Linked DNA regions of Homo sapiens: regions 2, 3 and 4 are each linked to region 1. Evidence: promoter capture Hi-C in 16 types of primary human blood cells and fetal thymus (Javierre and others, 2016). All regions are on one chromosome and are shown on one strand. The core of a region is centred on a gene start or on the middle of the fragment in contact, and the rest is flanking DNA. Distances in the headings are between cores, read along the strand shown. Region 1 holds the start of TOX2 (TOX high mobility group box family member 2). Region 2 overlaps TOX2 (TOX high mobility group box family member 2). Region 3 overlaps LOC101927200 (a long non-coding RNA gene). Region 4 overlaps TOX2 (TOX high mobility group box family member 2).

The links. Contacts are between HindIII fragments. The CHiCAGO score rates a contact against its expected background, and 5 or more counts as called.
Region 2: a fragment that was not itself captured here is called in contact with the fragment with the promoter of TOX2 in region 1 in 1 of 17 cell types (total CD8 T cells); the score reaches 6.4 in total CD8 T cells.
Region 3: a contact is called between a fragment that was not itself captured here and the fragment with the promoter of TOX2 in region 1, in 1 of 17 cell types (naive CD8 T cells). The highest score is 5.7, in naive CD8 T cells.
Region 4: a contact is called between a fragment that was not itself captured here and the fragment with the promoter of TOX2 in region 1, in 6 of 17 cell types (monocytes, naive CD8 T cells, total CD8 T cells and 3 more). The highest score is 7.1, in monocytes.

What each region holds. Positions count from the first base shown.
Region 1 is chr20:43,913,033-43,916,249 of GRCh38, forward strand. TOX2 (TOX high mobility group box family member 2) reads left to right here and starts at 1,820. Exons shown (of 9, transcript NM_001098797.2): 1 at 1,820-1,958. The coding sequence starts at 1,860. RefSeq lists silencers at 1,471-1,590, 1,691-1,790, 1,811-1,920, 1,971-2,060, 3,131-3,190 and enhancers at 1,557-2,274, 2,275-2,992. The HindIII fragment of the contact is 9,025 bases long and covers 1-3,217 here.
Region 2 is chr20:44,026,208-44,029,359 of GRCh38, forward strand. The region is part of intron 3 of TOX2 (TOX high mobility group box family member 2); the gene reads left to right. Among named protein-coding and RNA genes, the nearest start is that of TOX2, 110 kb to the left of the region's middle. The HindIII fragment of the contact is 2,155 bases long and covers 692-2,846 here.
Region 3 is chr20:43,795,391-43,798,678 of GRCh38, forward strand. The region is part of intron 1 of LOC101927200 (a long non-coding RNA gene); the gene reads left to right. It also overlaps the pseudogene RNU6-639P. Among named protein-coding and RNA genes, the nearest start is that of GTSF1L, 70 kb to the left of the region's middle. The HindIII fragment of the contact is 701 bases long and covers 1,262-1,962 here.
Region 4 is chr20:43,990,882-43,994,228 of GRCh38, forward strand. All of the region lies in intron 2 of TOX2 (TOX high mobility group box family member 2), which reads left to right. Among named protein-coding and RNA genes, the nearest start is that of TOX2, 78 kb to the left of the region's middle. The HindIII fragment of the contact is 2,704 bases long and covers 62-2,765 here.

The DNA of each region.
Region 1 (3,217 bases), core at 570-3,069:
ATTGAAAATGTTAATTTTATTCCAATTGATCTAAAGGTTCAAAGTGATACCAATTGAAATCCCAGCAAGATTGTGTTAGTGTGTTTGTGTGTATATATATAAATAGGTATGCTGATTCCAAAATTTCTGTGAAAGTGTAAACATCAAGAATAGCCAATGCAGTCTTAAAAGAACAAAATGGGTAGGCTTATTTCATGGGACATTTAGACTTATAAGCCCACAGTAATCCAGACATTGTGATAATGGCACAGGGAGAGAAAAATAGGCTAACAGAACAGAATAGAGAATTCAGGAACAGTCTTATGCACATATCGACTACTTGATTTACGACAATGTTAGCATTGCAGAAGAGTATGTGTGTGTGTGTAGGGGGGTGGTGGTGGTGGTGGTGATCTTTTCAATAAAGAGTGCTGGTCAGTTGGATATCCAGATGAAAAAAATGGACACAGGACAATGGAAATTTTTTTCTGATGAGGTGTGGCATTGTATTTCTAGAAACAATGACTGCTGAAATTTATTTGGAAGTTCTTTCCTTTCTGAGCTATAATTTCCCTCTGTTGTTCCCAAGCCTTCAGTGAATGCCTGTTTCCCACACCTATCTTTTGTTAATGCATCTTTCTTATGGTCCTAGTTCTAGGCCAGGACCAGCAAAGCCCAAGCAGCAGTTGAGAACTAAGTTCTAAGCTAGCTCCTGAGTGGGCAGGAAGCTCAAGTCCTTTTCTCCCAATGGCATCCTATATCCTGGTGCCACACAAGAATGCCATTCTGGCTGACTTCGCCTCCTGGCCTCTCCCAGTCAGACATACCTGGAGCAGTCAGTGAGCAGTGAGATTGCTAGGGGAGATTGCTAGTGTAGACAATTCTTGCATGAAAAGGGGGATGGGGGTGCAACAGTCTAGCAACCAGCAAGTGATATCAAGAACTAGAGGGTTTTTTTTTTTTTTTTGGTTGGGGAGGAACCCCATTTCACAGTCACCTTTCTGACCCACCATCAGAGCCATCCCATTCCAATCTCATTTTCTTCCTTTCCTCACTCCAAGAGACCGTGACTGTGGGCAGATCCTAGACCCCTCTTCAGAGCTTCGGGCTCTAGGCATTCCTGCGGCCCTCCCCTCCCTATCATTAAAAGGGGTGGGGTCCTGCTGCCTTCTCCAAGTGGTTTCAGCTCTGGATCCTTTGGGGGCAACGGAGCCCACCCGCCTGGAGCTCCATTACTGATGCTGCAAGTTTTTGACTCAGTTTCCCCATATGTGAGTGAGAGTTTAAGCGCGGCAATCTCCAGGGGGGGCTGTCAAGCTGACTCAGATCAGTGAGACGAGGAGGGGGCGGGCATGCTAAGAGCATCCTCCGGCGCTGGCCTGCGTCCCCCCAGGTAAGGCAGCACCCATCTCCAAAGTGGTCCTGTCACCACCTTCCTCTTCCCCCCGCACCCACGCCGCGGGGCGGGGACTAGCGCCGCCTCAAATATTTAGGGCAAGGGAGTGTCCCACTTCTGGGGAGGGGTGCCGTTCGGGCTTCTCTCCTCACCGTGGGTGGCGAAAGGCGGGACGGAAAAGCGCCGTCTGGACAGGCGCGCCCCCCTCAGGGATGCAGGGCCGGGCGGGGGACCCGGCGGCGGCCCAGCCCGGAGGAAGGACCTCCACGCCCCGGCCCGGGCCCCCGGGCCCCCGGCCCTAGGCAGCGCCCGAGGCCGGAACAATAGCGCGCGCGGGCGGGGCGGGGGCGGGGGCGGGGCGCTCCTCTGGGCACCGCCCCCGGCCCGCCCCCCGCGCTCGCAGTCCCGCTCGCACACTGGCTCCCACCCGCCGCCCGCCCAGGCACTGCCCGCGGGAGCCGCCGCCGCCGCCGCCGCGCCCGCCATGGACGTCCGCCTGTACCCCTCGGCGCCCGCGGTGGGCGCGCGGCCCGGGGCCGAGCCGGCCGGCCTGGCGCACCTGGACTATTACCACGGCGGCAAGGTAGGCGGGGGCGGGCGGGGGTCCCCGGCGGGCGGGGCCGGAGTCACCTGGCAGCTCGGGACTCAGGCGCTCCCGGGGTCACACGGGGCCGCGCACATCAGCCCCGCCGACGGGCACGGGCGGCTCACATCGATCCCCTCGCGGCCACGCTCACGCCCTGAGTTGTTGGGATCGCGGGCAGAAGTCATCCCGACAGCCACCCGTGCGACGACACAGTGGCCCCTCACTCGCGTCCCCCTGACAGCCTCGCAGTCATTCACAAGCCGTCACAGTGACCCACAGCCACACGCAGGCGGCCAGGCACTGCTTACACGGTCCCGCCGTCCCACGCAAGTCACCCTGACAGTCACTTATACACAACGACACGCAACCACTCACCCGCAAACAGCCTCACCGCCACAGACGAGTCACCCACAGACGCTCCGATGCCCCACACACCGTGACATGCCCCCACCCGCTGTCACACCCAGGCACAACGGGGGACAGTCACACAAAGAAGTCGCCCGACAGTCACACTCTCGCAGCCACAACGCCTCACCCAGGCGCACGCTGTCACACACAGCCACCCCCCTGGACGGTGAGCCTCAGACACAGATCGTCCTGACGGCCACACAGTCACACGCGGTCACACCCAGGGACGGCCACACCTCGGTCATCCACACTCGCGCGTCGAGGTTTAACTTCTCAGCGCCGCAGCACACTAATTGGGCAGTTTACTAATTGGCCGTCACTGCCTGGCGGGGCCTCGGATTCCGAGTAGGCTGCGGCCAATCGAGGCCTGTGTCCTCCCGGGAGCGGTGAGCCGGCGTCCCTCCAGGCTGGGGCTGTAGTGCCGGACACCCTCCCTCCTCCATGTTTCCAGGATCTATCCCCCCACCCCAGCCAGGTCCCAGCTGCGCTGCGCCGGGCGCATTCCCAGTGATGGAGGCTTGCGTGCCTGGAACCCCGAACCCGAGGCGTCAGGTCCCACTGCCGGGTCTGGCCCAGCCTGGATGGGTTGGGTGCCTCTAAGCAGTCCGCGTCCCCTTCGGTCGCCGGAGAGGGAACTTTCAAACTTAGTTAGGAAGCCAGACTGTCCGCGCGTCCGCCAGTCGGTGCGTCGGTCCCGGGCCGGCTGGAGCCAAGCGCGGGTTTTCGTCACTCGGAGCCCGGATTGAACAGCGCGCGTGGGTTTCCCGCAGCCCTGGCGCAGACGCGTGGGCTCCGTGGCGATGCGGGGTGAGTGCGCGTCCAGTGGCTGGATCGGCGCCCCCCAGGGT
Region 2 (3,152 bases), core at 519-3,018, 110 kb after region 1:
CGAGTGGATAAAGAAACTGTGATATATATATATATATATATAGACACACACACACACAATGGAATACTACTCAGCCATAAAAAGGAATGAATTAATGGCATTTGCAGCAACCTGGGTGTGATTGGAGACTATTATTCTAAGTGAAGTAACTCAGGAATGGAAAACCAAACATCGTATATTCTCACTCATAAGTGGGAGCTAAGCTATGAGGATGCAAAGACATAAGAATGACTCAATGGACTTTGGGGACTCAGGGAGAAAGGGTGGGAAGAGGGGGAAAAAGAAGATAAACAGCATATTTTGAACTAAAAATTACTCCTTGATATTAATAGTGGGCATTCCTCTTAAATTATGGATTAAAAAAACCCTAGGAATTTGTTTTACCTCAAAAATAAAATAAACCGTAATAAACCTAAAAAGGGGGTGCTGGAGAGCAGGAAATGTGTGGCTTCTTCTGCCTCCCTGACACTGTCTCAGGCCAGACCTCCCCACACCCCCTTCATCAATTAAATTGTGGTAAATTAGGCGGTAGGAACCACCCCAGAACTCCAAGTCCTTCTGTGCCTCAGGTCCACTGTGTGACCTCAGGGCTGGTTCTGACCCTCTCTGGGCCTCCTTCCTTCTTCTGTGGGGTGAGGCCACTGAGCCCCATCCCTGAGCACCCACAACTCTCCTGGGAAAGGATCTGGGAAGCTTTTCCTGCCGCCTCCTCCCCACCTTGGGCATTTCAGTCTCGGCTTAACCAGCCACTTCAACACAGGCAACACTTTTCTCGAGAGTTCATAAAAACATGTAAACACGGGTGAGGATACAAAATATTGAGCGGCGAGGCAGTAAAACACGGCAGTGTTTGTTGTGTTAACTGAATATTCATGAGCTGACTGTTTAAATTACAGTTCACAACTGTTGCAGGGCCTGATGAATAATTTAAATGAGGGTGGCCAAAGAGATTTCAACACTGCATTAGCAAACTGCTCAGGATCAGCTTCAGAGAATTTATAATTAGCTCAGAATAGCCTATAATAAATTCTTTGGAAAGATGGTTTTAATTAGCACATGTGCCAATTCAGAATGGAGAATGTTCAGCGTTCAGGGGAGGGGGTGGGTCACCCTCCCCTCCTTCTTATGTTTCCCCGTCATGCGGAGGTCCCACCACCTGCCTGGGATCCCTGAGCCATGCTGAGCCCACCCGGAACCCACCACCAGGCTTCCTGCCTTGAGTCTGTCCCGCCTCCACTGCCCCATCCCAGCTTAGGCCTCTCCGCCATAGCCTGTGCAGCTGCAGAAGCCTCTGACCTGGTCTCCCTGCTTCTGTGTCTCCTGCTCCAGTTCATCCCCATGGGGGCAGCCAGTGGGAACTTACTGGATGCAGATCTGATTCCATCTCTGCCCCATTTGGAGATCCTTAATTGAGGAGGCCCAGAGAGATGAAGTGGCTGGTCGAGCTCAAATAGGTCCCAGACACCAGTTGACTTCAGCCAGTGCCTAGGTGCTTGGGGATGGGTGAGGCATCACTGGCAGAAGGAAGTGCACAGGCAAAGATGAGGAGGCAGGAATGTTCTGTGTGTCGGGGGCCAGTGGGGAGCAGGACAAGCAGAGGCTTGGAGAAAGCAGGGGCCCGACCATGGCGTGCCTCAAATGCTTCGAGGTGGAGGATGTAGGAGGGAGGTCCCACTTAGGGGATCATGGAGGCTGCCAGTCTGGGGCCTAGAGCTCCCAGCCCACCTGGCTCATTCCTCAACATGTGCTGAGTGCCTGACAGGTGCCAGACCTCGGGCTGGGCACTGGGGAAACGGCTCAGAGCAAAGCACCAGCCACGGTTCCCTCTTTCATAAATGGAGCACACAACCAGAGCCATGTACACACTCAGCCGAAGGTACGACTAACAGCTGTGACAAGTTCAATGGAAAAAATAACAGGGTGTCAGGAGAGAGAATCAGCAGGGATCCTGATTTAGGTGGGGAGCCAGGGAAGGCCTCCTGAAGGCAAGGGCATTTGAACTGAGTCCAAAAGTGAGTAGGGGTGAAGGAGGCCAACTGGTCCCAGGTGGAAGGGGCTGCCCCATTCCCAGAGGGGGTGCTGTGGCTGGGCAGGGGGGTGAGGGGGTCTAGTAGAGCCCCCAGCAGCAGCCTAGGGTGGGGCTGGACTGGTTCTGGGAGAGGGGCATCTGTCTATGGGGAGCTCATTGCTGGAGGAGAAAATAACCTACTTTTCTGCTCCCAAACCCTCGCTGCAGCGCTTAGAGCTGCAAACCTTGAGCAAGACATTGGAGTTTCTCTGCTTCATTCCATCAGGATCACTCACGCACTCATTCAGCCCTCACACTTTTATTAAGCCCCTACTATGTACCAGGCACTCTTCCAAGCCCTGAGCAGTGAACAAAACTGATGACAATCCCTGATTCCTGGAGCTTACATTCCAGTGATACAGACAGACAAAGACGCAAAGGAGTAAGATGTGCCCTCCCTGGCACTCAGATGGGGGAGGAAAGGTTCCCTGCCAGATTCTCTGATGCCCCCTCCCAGTCCTGGTGCTGTGGGCAGGGCTCTCAGACCCCTTTTGAAATAGAAACTGAAGATCAAATTCAGGAATTTGGAGGATTCACAGCTTGGACAGGTCATTTTTAGTTATCCACCTGCTGTGACCAAGGGCAGCCAGTTCTGCCTCCTCAGCTCTCTCCTGTCCATGACATCTGCCCCATGTGCCTCTTGACCCTGCCTTTAGCCTCTTGCCCTGAGCACAGGGGAACCTGCTGGGCCATCCCCCACTCACACACCACTCTGGACCCCCAGTGACTGCCAGACCAAGTCCTCATCCCCTTGTGATCTGCCCCTCCTGGCTCCCCAAGCTTCGTCCCTTCCTTGGCCACAGTGAACCCTGGAGTCCTGGCAGCCCCCTGACACTCAGGGTCGCCACCGCGCTGATGCTGAACAGCAAGCCTCGCCCTCCAGCTCCGCTTCCATCACAGCAGTTCTGTGGTTTGTCATTGTTTTTGACCAGTGGTTCCCTCTCAATTCTTCACAAAGATACAGAAAGATAAGTCACAAAGATTAGTCAAAACAAGACGGATATTGCTGTGCTGACCTGCTTGGTGATAACAAGCACCATACCCTTTCAGGCACTCTGTAACCGTGGGTAAGAGGATGTGGTGA
Region 3 (3,288 bases), core at 362-2,861, 120 kb before region 1:
GGGTATCAGCTGGGAAATAGTGTAATTTAGCTTAAAATCTTAAAGGGTCCTTATGCCTGCTTCATAGAGACATATTGGGGAGGGCAAGAACACAAAAGAGGAGAAGAGTGAGGGCTACTACAGTTGTCCTGGTGAGAGATAATGGAGGCTTGAACTAACGTAGAGGCAGTTGGGTTGGAGGGATGAGTGGATGGACGTAGAGTATGTTGTCAGGCTTTGATGACAGATTTGGGGATGGGAGTTTGGGAGAGGGGAAAGGGAAAGAATCCTAGGGTTCTGTCTTGTGCAAGTAAGTAGATGAAAGAGCGCTTCATGGAATTAGGGAGCACTGGGGGAGGAAAATATTGGAGTGGAAGATCCAAAATTCACTTTTGTGCTGAAATTTCTGTGATACATTCTTATGGAGATGTCAGTAAGGTAGCTAGATGTATATCATGAACCAGATTTTTCTGTTTTATTTCTAATTGGCTATTGTTATATATAGAAAAACTGTTGCTTCACGCAAATAGATACTTTTTTTTCTGAGATGATCTCACTCTGTTGCTGAGGCCGGAGTGCAGTGGTGGGAACATGGCTCACTGCAGCCTCAACCTCCTGGGCTTAAGTGATCCTTAAACCTCAGCCTCTCTATTAGCCTGGACTATAGGCATGCACCACCATATCTGGTTGATTTAAAAAAATTATTATTTTTTTTTCTGTAGAGACGGGTCTCGGTATGTTGCCCAAGCTGGTCTCAAACTCCTGCATTCAAGCAATCCTCCTAATTCAGCCTTCCGAAGTGTTGGGATTATAGGCATGAACCATTGAGTCCAGCTGCAAATATACTTTGTATTAGACCATTTTACTGGCCTCTCTTGTTAGTTTGAATAGCTTTTCTGTGATTTTTTTGGTGTTCTCATATGTAATTATATTGCCTGCTAATAATGATAAATGTATTTCTTCCTTTCCAACCATTTTACCCCTTATTATTTTTCTTGTTTTATCACATTGGCTATAGTAGAGGTCCTTTTGAAGTTAGCTTTTTTAATGTATATAATTTTTTCTTAAAAAATATGGAATGCTTCATGAATTTGCATGTCATCATTGTGTAGGGGCCGTGCTAATCTTCTCTGTATTGTTCTAATTTTAGTATATGTGCTGCCAAAGCAAGCACTACAGTTAGTTTTAATGGTAAACATAATATTGATATTTGACCAGCTAAGAGGAAGATGATTTTGAGACAAAGCTTCGAGGCAGTGTATACAGCTCAAATTATGACAGAAGCTTAGATGTGGTGTGATAATACATTTGAATAAGGTGGTGTCTTAGTTCTTGCTGCTGTAACACAATGCCACAGACTGGGTAATTTATATTGAGCAGAAGTTTATTGGCTCATGATTCTGGAGGCCAGGAAATCCAAGATCAAGGGGCCGGCATCTGACAAGGGCCTTCTTGCTATGTCATCTTATGGTGGGAGGGCAAAGAGAGGGCGAGAGAGGGAGCAAATGGTCAAACTCACAGCCTCAAACCCTTAAATTCATTCATGGAGGTGAAGCCTTCATGACTAAACACCTCCCATGAGGCCCCGCCTCCTAACAGGCCCCACCTCCTGACACTGTTGCATTGAGGATTCTGTTTCCAACACATGCTTTTTGGGAGACACAGTCAAACCATAGCAGGTGATAACTGAAGACATAAAAAGGGATATAAATACCAACTCTCTTACCCTCATACTCATAGCCAGAAGAATGGTCTGTCCATAAAACATGATCACAATGCTTCAAACCTGAAGCATGGTGGTCAAATTGACAGGAAACTAAGAATATCTAAAAGTAAAGGTTAAAGTTGGGTAGAGTGTGTTCATTTGGAAAAGAGAACAGAGAAGAAATTGATCATAATTCTCAGTTTATGAACACCTGTAAAAAGGTAGGATGAAAAGAAATAGACAGATAGGTATATTTTAAAATCAGTGTCCATGGTTGAAGCTTAATCTTCCAAAATATCCTGTAACAACTATAATTTATGTAATGCTAGTATGCATATAACATATCACTTGGTTTCCCCATCACCTCAGTGATATAGGTAGTAATTCACATTTATCCATAGTTTGACATTTTCTAACATGCTTAGATTACCTCATTTGATGTTTACATTCTCAGGGCTTGCTCCCTTGCAATTAAGGCTACAATAAAAATCCATCTGCTTTTAGTTCTTTGAACGCAATGTCCTGCATTCTCTCTACTCGGCCTTTGTCCATGTGGCCCACCTTGTGATGCCTGTTTCTCCTTCACAACCCAGTTCAGCCCCAAGGAAAGGCCTCTGTTCCATTGTCAGAAGGGAGAGGTGAGTGTAGCCAGCCAGGCCTTGAAGGAATTCAAGCCAGGTAGCAGGTATAGCACAACTCAAATATGCTGCCGTAAGCTTTGCTGAGCTCCCTTGCTTTAGGGAAGAAAAGAAAAAGAAAGTCCTCTTTAGCCAGCTGCATTTCTTCTTCCCATTTCCAGAGTGTACCAGGGAGGGTACACATGTGATTGTCCATGGGCTCACCTTTACCCATCACTCCTCTGGGGCAGATGCCAAATCATGTGTCTCGTGATGCAAGAGCTTCATGGGGGTGGAGCAGGGTTGGGTGCTGTCTAAGAGGGAATGAATGGCCCAAAGCTCCAGGTCTGGACAGTCTGAGACCCTCTTGCTGGGGAGTAGCGTTTTGGGAAAAATGAAATACACTTGGCTGGATCTGAAACTTTCTGTAGTTAGGTCTGGTTGGGTGGAAGGGGATCTTGGGTGGCCTTCAAGCCTTGGAGACCCCCAATCCAAGATCTCTAAGGACGTATACCTAGAACCTTCCAGCTTATCTGCATCGTCAGTGTTTCTCACTCTTCTGTGCATGCCCCAAGTTGTCTCTGCTGTCAGGCTGCAAGATTGTTGTGGAAACAGGCTGAGCCTATTCCATCTTGCTCAGTCACAGGGCCTTGTCTGGTGCCTGGCACACAGAGGGCTGCAGCAAGTGTTGGTTGATTTGAAATCACAGTTGAGCCTCCTGCCTCAGCATCTCAGTCAGTGCTCCATAGCCAGTCACGTGGCTGCCTACAAAGGAGAAGAAGATAAAAGAATCCCAGGTGACTTTGTGGGTTAAAGGGGTTTTAAAGCTCTTGCTTTAGAAGCTCAAGTAAAACTTTCATCCTGTGTTGACTGGATAAAGCATTCTGTCAGCCATCCGGGGCTCGTCTAGGACTGGGGGCAGGGGAGAAGGGAGAGCAATGTTGTCACTTTAATTGCATTGGCATAAATATTTGATATTCAATAAAT
Region 4 (3,347 bases), core at 164-2,663, 77 kb after region 1:
TTTTCAGAAGGTAGAAATGGGAAAGAAAAAAAAAGCTGCAAATAGACATCATTTTTCCAGAAGCTTATTTTAAGACAGAAACAACTAGAGAGCCTACTCATCATTTTTGCTGCTTTTAAAATCAGCACTGCCTTGTGTGTGCCTGGGTACCTGCATACAAGGAGCACAGGCATGAATTGAATTTGATTTTTAAAATCCCTTGATCCAATTGCCTCTTTTTACAGTTGGTGTAACTGAGGCCCAGAAAGGGGTCAGTGATTTGTCCAAGGTCACACAGCCTGTCAGAGGTAGGGGCTCAGATCTTCATGAGAAGATGCTAAGATAAGGACAAGGAACCAGGAGACCCCGATGGGCCAAGTTAGAATGATTTCATGCTGAACAGCGTCACTGAGCGGGCTGCTTCAGACCTTTGCTGACTTCTTAGAGCTTGCAGGAAAGATGGTGCAGCACTGAGCCCAATGCCATAGCAGACCATTAGGATGTTCATTCATTCATTCACTCCAAAACATATTTACTAAGCACCTACTGTGCGTCAGGCAGTGGTGTAGGTGCTGAGACGAAACTGTGAACAAAGCAGTCAAACACTCCTAGTCCTTACTCGTTCATGCATCCTTTTATTCAGTAAATGTTTATTGAGGGCCTACTATGTGCAAGGTACTATCCTTGGCCCTTGGAATATATCAGTGACCAAATGGTGGAATTTATATCCTAGTGAAGGGGACAGGCAATAATCATTATTATTATTATTATTATTATTATTATTATTATTATTATTATTTTGAGTTGGAGTCTTGCTCTGTCATCCAGGCTGGAGTGCAGTGGTACAATCTCAGCTCACTGCAACCTCCACCTCCCAGGTTCAAGCAATTCTGCTGCTTCAGCCTCCTGAGTAGCTGGGATTACAGGCATACACCACTATGCCCGGATCATTTTTGTATTTTTAGTACAGATGGGGTTTCACCATGTTGGCAACGCTGGTCTTGAACTCCTGACCTCAGGTGGTCTGGCCTCCCAAAGTGCTAGGATTACAGACGTGAGCCACTGCAGCCAGCCATAATCATTATTTTAAAGAAGTAAAGTATACTGTATGTTTGCAGGTAAAAGTTCTGTGGGGAAACTGAGCAGGTAGGGGAGCTGGGTGTGCCAGCAGGAGCTGCACTTGCAAACAGGGTGGCCAGGGAAGGCGCTGCTGAGAAAGTGACATTTGAGCAACGACTTGAAGGGGCGAGGGAGTTGAGATCTGGGAAAGGACATTGCAGTAGAGGGAACAGCCAGCACCAAGGCCCCGCAGTGGGAGTGTGCCTGGCATGTTTGAGGAACGTGGCTGGAGTGGAGGCAGTGAGGTGGAAGAACTGGGAGACTTATCTGATCGACGGCTGGGATGGTCAAGAGCAGCTCCCAACCACGTGTGGCATGGGCAGAGGTAAGTGACCCAGGACAGCATCAGGAGTGATCGTGTAGGAGCGATCGTGTAGGAGCCAGGATACCCCTACCTCCCTTGTAAGGCCTCCCAGCATTGACATGAGGGCAGGGCACGTGCATGGGGTGTGGCATCCCTTGCAGTGATTTAAAGGGAAGTCTCAGCATCTCGCAATGTCTTGGAGCCAAAGGAGCTCCCATTTTGAGGCCACTGTGGGAAACTCATGTGGCGTAAGGAAGGATCATAGCCTTCAGATCGAGCCAGGCCCATATCTGAAAAAATGTCGTGGTTGAATGTCTTAGTAATACCAGCATGGAGAAGCCATTTTCTAAGCATGATGTGAAAGCCAGAAATCATACATTAATACATTTAATGTTTTAACATAAATGTAAAGCCCTTGATATGGCAAAAGTTATAAATAAGATCAAGTGACAAATTGGGAGTAATATTTGTAGCATGTAACATGCAAACACATAGAATAAAACAATAGAAAAATGGCAGAGGTAATGCTGGTTTTAGAACATGAAACACATTCGTGTAGGGTTTACAAAAAAAAAAAAAAAAAGAAAAAATGGTGGAGGGCCAGATTTGGTCCACGGCCTGTGATTTGCTGATCCGAACTGATTTAGGAATGTTGACATGTCCAAAACTGAGCTCGTGGTCCTCCTTATACCCACCAAGCATGTTTTCCCCTCAGTATTCCTCCACCAGTGGCTCGAGATGGGAACCTGGGAGTGATGTTCGAGTCCCCGCTGAATGAGGAAGGCACGTGGCATGTCAGACACCATCCAGGCTGGCCATAGCGATGAGGGGGTGTCATAGGAGGTGAGACTGGAAGGAGACTGGGCCGGATCATGCAGGACTTTGCAGGCTACAGAGAGGGTTTCACACACACTGTATCCTGAGCGTAGAGGACATCAGCTAATGGGAGTATCACCATCAGTTTTGTGTGTGGAACCTCTACCCTGGCTGCTATGGAGAACAATTTGGAAGGAAAGAGATTAGAAGTTAGGAGATCATTGAGGAGGTGATTACAGCAGTCCTTGTGGGAGGTGATGACCGCTTGGACTAGGATGGTTGCTCTGCAGATGGATTGTGGTGGGAAGATTTGAGATACATGGGGAGGTGGGGCTGACAGGACTTTGTGATTGATTGGAGATGGGGATGAGAGAGGGAGGAATTGAACATCTCTCCCAGGTACCCAGCTTGAGCCACCGGTAGAGGAATACTGAGGGGGAAATGGACTTGGTGGGTACAAGGATGACCACAAGCTCAGTTCTGGACGTGTCAAAGAAATCATGGCCCTTGGACCAAATCTGACCCTCCACCTGTTTTGTGTAAATAAAGCTTTACTGGAACATGGGATCCTCCTAAGTTTAAATATTGCCTGTGGCTACTTTCATGCTATAGCAATAGAGTTGAATAGTTCTGACAGAGACCATATGACTCACAAAGCCAAAAATACATATTATCTGCAGAAAAAGTTTGCTGGGCTTTTGTGTAGGACATCCAAGGGAAGTAAAGTATCAAAGAGGCAGTTGGATATGTAGCTATAAAAATGTAATTTGAGGCTGGGCACAGTAGCTCACGCGTGTAATCCCAGCACTTCGGAATGGAAAGCAGGGAGGATTGCTTGAGGCCAGGAGTTTGAGACCAGTCTGGGCAATATAGCAAGACCCGGTCTCTACAAAAAAATAAAAAATAGTAGGACATGGTGGCACACGCCTGTAGTCCCAGCTCCTTGGGTGTCTCAGGTGGAAGATCGCTTGAATCCGGGAGATTGAGGCTGCAGTGAGCTGTGATCATGCCACTGTGCTCCAGCCTGGGCAACAGAGCAAGACCCTGTCTCGAAAAAGAAAATTCAATTAAAAAAACAAAAACAGTTTGGCACGGTGGCTCATGCCTATACTCCCAGCACTTTGGGAGG